2 separate regions of the Homo sapiens genome follow, and region 2 is linked to region 1. The links are contacts of gene promoters, found by promoter capture Hi-C in human tissues and cell types (Jung and others, 2019). All regions are on one chromosome and are shown on one strand. The core of a region is centred on a gene start or on the middle of the fragment in contact, and the rest is flanking DNA. Distances in the headings are between cores, read along the strand shown.

Region 1 (2,700 bases), core at 7-2,506:
CCCCACGCCCGTCCAAGCCTCTGAGAGGGCGGGGCCTGGCTGTGTCCACAGGAGAACGGCAGTGCCAGGCAAGCTAGCCTGGCTCCGTGCCAAGGTCCTGCACCCAGACATCTGGGAACCTGCACCTCGGCTTCCAAAAGCCTGGGCCCAGATGCCCTCTCAGCTCTGCCTCCGAGATATCCACATCACCCATAGTGTCCGCAGGCGAGCGGACCAGCAGTGAAAGGGAGAGGTTTCTTCCAACCTCCCACCCATCCCTCCATCCATACACATACAAAGAGGTGCGGAGAAGAAAGGTCTGACAAAGGCGCTTTGGAGAGCGAGAGGTCGCGGGGAGGTCTGGACAGAACTGAGGGCCAGAGGATGGGGTCGAAAGGCCAGGCGGACGTGCATGCTTGGACCATCAGATCACCCCTGCCCCAACGGACCCAGCCCTAACACCCTGGGCGCTAGGACCTGGGGGAGGGGGGCGTGTTGTGAGCCATCAAAGAAGGCTCTCTACGTGCGCGCCCGCCGGAGACCAGGGATGAGGTCACTAAATGACTGCCCCGGCCAACCCCCACCCCGTCTTTATCCGCACCGCCCCCCCCTTAATTGACCTAACTTTCTAACCCTAGCTCTTCGCTTCTGGCACCGGTCCCCTCCCAAGTCTCCAGACCCTAACCCTGGCTCCCGACCCGCCCCGCTACAGCTTGGGAAGCGGGAGAAGCAGCGCGCGCCCTTCTGCGGACCCCCTCCCAGGGAAGATTGTGGTGTTAGCTGCCTAGGGGGACCAGGGGGCCACCGGGACCCAGCGCAACCTCTGTCTCGCTCCCCAACCCCCGGAAGCGCTAACAGCACGGTTCTTACGTAATGCCGGGCTTCTAAGTACCCCCAACCCGCACAGCCCCCGGGGAGGCCGCGCAGATACCGGGGCCCCTCACAGCTCACCACCTTGGTGCCTGAAGCCACTTTGGAGCCCCTACCGCAGGGGCGGGGACCAGTGTCAATGGGCAGCGGGGCTTGGTTCTCCCAACCAGCACCCCAGAAAGAGGGCCCAGGGGCGGGGGCGGGTGGACAGGGAGGGAACGGGCCTGGGTGAAAGGGGCCTGTGGAGTTTAAACCCAGTGAATAGGGTCCTAAGTGCCGTGTCAGGACGAAAAGAAGGCGGAGGTCTTGGGATAGGAGCTGGCCCGGGGGCCGGGGGACGCCTACCTGCGCCCCGGGAAGCCCCTAGCTCCGGGCGGCTCCAGCGCAGCCGGGCGCTCAGCGTTTATTGCTTGTCAATCGCTAGCCCGGCTCTTAAAGCGGCAAGGCCTCTCCGCGAGGGGGCGGAGGTCCGGAGGAGAGGGGAGGTGAGGAGAACGCGGAGGCCGGCACAACTCGGAGGAAGTAGTCTTTCCCAGCAGCTGGTACGGGGGCAGCCAGGTAGTGGTTTGGGAGACACCGCACAGACCACGACGCCCTGCTGGAGTCCCACTGGGAAGGGTTAGGGAGGCAGGACTGGTACCAGTACCCGCTGGTGCCCCTCGGCTCCCAAGGATCCCTTAAAGGGGCGATGGTAAAAGTGCCTAATGAGACCGGCTTGATTACTCCGCCCACCCATCTTGGCTTAGACCGGCGTTCTAGTTCCAGGCGTGCCTCACTTTTCCTCGTTATCCTGCTTCCATATTGAGAAAAAGAATAGGAGGACTTCAGAGAGACTCCCAGGAAGCAGGATACCAGCCCCAGAAGGCCTCGGGATCAGGGGCAGCTTTTTAAGGACTCAGAGGGTGGATATCCGGATTCCAGACTTTCCAGAAATTTTGCAAAAAAGAGGAAATGTCTTCCTGAAAGGATTCGAGAGCCTCTTTTAGGTCTAGGTGAGGGAGGCCTGGTCCATTTTCCTGCCTATGGAATAAAGAAGTAACTGGCTAGCCTTCCTCAGAGTCCCAGCCCAAAAAGTAAATAAAGGGTTAAACCCACTGGCCCGCCTTCGCCCAGCCTCCGGCTCCACCCCACATCTGCTAGTAAAAGATGCTGGGCCTCCAAATACGGGAGGCTCTGTGCAGTGCGACTAGCATTTGGGGCCAGCTACGCTACTTCTCCGACCTCGGCGTTCAGCCACCCCGTCCAGTTGCCCTGAACAAAATGTGAGAGTCATCCCTTTTCCTTGCTAACTGGATTCCTAAGATCATAAATGGACTGCATCTTTGGCCGGGCGCGGTGGCTCACTCCCATAATCCCAACACTTTGGGAGTCGGAGGCGGGAGCATCGGTTGAGCCTAGGAGTTCGAGACTAGCCCAAGCAACATAGTGAAACCCCATCGCTACAAAAAATAAAATAAACAAAATTAGCTGGGCGTGGTAGCGCGCGCCTGTAGTCCCAGCTACTTGGGAAGCTGAGGCTGCAGTGAGCCGAGATTGCAACACCGCACTCCAGCCTGGGCAACAGAGTGAGACCCTGTCTCAAAAGAAACAAAAAGAAAAGAAATGGATTACATTCTGGAAACTTGCTTGGAAATCTCAGAAATGGGAATCTATCCCGAAAGCAGGGGACTGGTCCCTGGGTTCCAAGACTCAGCTCTCCCCTGAGTTCCAAGGGTATAAGTTTGGATATAGGAAAAAGCCACAGAGGCGGCCGAACTGCTGAAAACCACATTGTTTAGGTGACCCAGGCTTTTACTGAGAGAAGAAAGCCATCGAACCCAGATAGCTTTGACAGGAATTGCAGGCTTTGGT
Region 2 (2,700 bases), core at 193-2,692, 130 kb after region 1:
TCTGGATGCTGGCATATTGCCAATACCCTACCCAGCTTCCCCAGTAGACTTTTAGGAAGACAACCACCCAAAAGCCTGCCACCAGACAGCACAACCAGGTAGCATTACCCCAGGACAAAGGACCTCTCCGATCCCAACTCACGTCTTGTGAATGGTCTGGAAGAGCTGCTGGCCCTCTAGAGAGACACCAGCACTGATTGCATAGGCCTGGCTCAGCTTCTCCTCCTTCTCTGTCCGTGCTTTGCTGGCAAGCTAGGGTGGAAGAGAGGAAAGAGACTCAGAATAGGATTCATCTTCATTCTTGCCAACAGTCAGGACCTAAGCTGAAGAAAGGAGGCCAGGAAAGACTTGTTTGGACAGATTCTGTTTTCTCAGAAATGAAAAGTGAAACAAATTTTAAAAATCCACGACATACCTGAACAGTTACTGGTATTCCAAGAAAACGTTCCTTCCTTCCTTCTAATACTTACTGCATACCTACCATGTGCCAGACATTCACTATGCTAGGCTAAATATAGCCTGAAGTGGGTGGGGGAGACAGACTATAAACAAGTAACTGAAATCAAGGTGATTTCAGACAGTGATAAGCACTAGGAAGAAAATAAAGCACTTTTAACATTATAGAGTGTGGCTGGGGGACTATGTGATGGCAAATGATGGTCAGAGATTTAAAAATATATACATTTCCGGCCAGGGGAGGTGGCTCATGCCTGTAATCCCAGCACTTTGGGAGGCCGAGGCAGGTGGATCACGAGGTCAGGAGGTCAAGACCAGCCTGGCCAAGATGGTTAAAACCCTGTTTCTACTAAAAATACAAAAAAAAAAAAAAAATTAGCCAGGCGTGGTGGCGGGCTCCTGTAATCCCAGCTACTTGGGAGGCTGAGGCAGAGAATTGCTTGAACCCAGGAGAAGGCTGCAGGGAGCTGAGATCGCGCCACTGCACTCTAGCCTGGGTGACAGAGCAAGACTCCGTCTCAAAACAAAACAAAACCAAACAAAAAAAAATACATACACATACACACACACACACTTCTAACTGGGTGCATCACTGAGGTAGGGAGTTCGAGACCAGCCTGGCCAACATGGTGAAACCCCGTCTCTACTAAAATTACAAAAATTAGCCGGGCATGGTGGTGCGTGCCTGTAATCCCAGCTACTCAGAAGGCTGAGGCAGCAGAATCACTTGAACACAGCAGGCAGATGTTGCAGTGTGCCGAGATCATGCTACTGTACTCCAGCCTGGGCAAAGAAGTGAGACTCTGTCTCTTTAAAAAAAAAAAAAACAAACACACACACACACACACACACACACACACACACACACACACAAACACACACACACACACAGAATTTCCATTCAAGGCGAAAATTAAGATTTATCAGCTGTTGTGCTAGAGCCTCCAGTTTAAAAATTAATACATACCACACCTTCACAGACCACAATCTGAGACTCTAAAAACTCTTACAGAACATTATCTGTGCTCACATAGGGAGCCAGGACTCAAGTAAATCTAACCATAAACGCTGTCCACCTTTAACTTTAGCTAAAGGCAACCCTGTCCTGCTTTTGAGAAAAACGAAGAGTCTGAATTCTACGTCATGTCTGTTCCTTCACTGCCCTCTGGTGGAACCATCCACAAACTGATCAAAAGAAAATCTAGTAAAATCTGGTAGTCTACTACAATCTCGTAACTTCTACCCTGTCAATCCCTATCACCTCTCCAGCACATTTCTGATCCCTACCCCACACTACTGGTTGCTAGAGATTCCAGAGGTACAAATTTGTTTGAGTGTAAGACAAAACAAATGTGCTAGACAAGGTAGTTAAAACAAATTAAAGGCAAACAATGCATCTTAAAAGTCCAACAAATAATCTGGAGACTCTTCAGACCCATGAACATGAACAGCTGAGTCTAACAATGCTGCAGCACATGTGCAAACACGCGCGAGAACACACAATTTGTCCCCAAACATCAGTTCCTTAAATAAAAAGAGGCACTGGCTGGGCCCAGTGGCTCACGCCTATAATCCCAGTACTTTGTGAGGCCGAGGCAGGCGGATCACCTGAGGTCAGGAGTTTGAGACCAACCTGGCCAACATGGTGAAACCCCGTCTCTACTAAAAATACAAAAATTAGATGGGTGTGGTGGTGTGCACCTGTAATCCCGCCTACTCAGGAGGCTGAGACAGGAGAATCGCTTGAACACGGGAGGCAGAGACTGCAGTGAGCCGAGATTGTACCACTACACTCCAGCCTGGGCGACAGAGCAAGACTCCGTCTCAAAAAAAAAATGGGGGAGCCATACCTACAGCATATTCCAAAAGTACCTTAATGCTTGGAATCTTCAAACATTTATATTCTGCTTTTACAGTGATCCATCAAACCATAAACTAAGCATAGCTTTTTTTCTTGGGATTGAGTTTCACTCTTGTTGCCCAGGCTGGAGTACAATGGCACGATCTCAGCTCACTGCAACCTCCGCCTCCTGGGTTCAAGCGATTCTCCTGTCTCAGCCTCCAGAGTAGCTGGGATTACAGGTGCCCGCCACCACCCCCAGCTAATTTTTTTTTTTTTTTTGAGACGGAGTCTCGCTCTGTCGCCCAGGCTGGAGTGCAGTGGCGCAAGCTCTGCTCACTGCAAGCTCCACCTCCCAGGTTCACGTCATTCTCCTGCCTCAGCCTCCCGAGTAGCTGGGACTA

Evidence for each region. Contacts are between HindIII fragments. The study calls those that stand out against the background at their distance.
Region 2: a contact is called between a fragment that was not itself captured here and the fragment with the promoter of MPP2 in region 1, in 1 of the 25 tissues and cell types used here (aorta).

What each region holds. Positions count from the first base shown.
Region 1 is chr17:43,906,280-43,908,979 of GRCh38, forward strand. MPP2 (MAGUK p55 scaffold protein 2) reads right to left here and starts at 1,257. Exons shown (of 13, transcript NM_005374.5): 1 at 1,195-1,257. RefSeq lists an enhancer at 1,267-1,416. The HindIII fragment of the contact is 11,562 bases long and covers 1-2,700 here.
Region 2 is chr17:44,040,005-44,042,704 of GRCh38, forward strand. LSM12 (LSM12 homolog) reads right to left here. Exons shown (of 5, transcript NM_001371445.1): 3 at 143-252. Among named protein-coding and RNA genes, the nearest start is that of LSM12, 25 kb to the right of the region's middle. The HindIII fragment of the contact is 8,358 bases long and covers 1-2,700 here.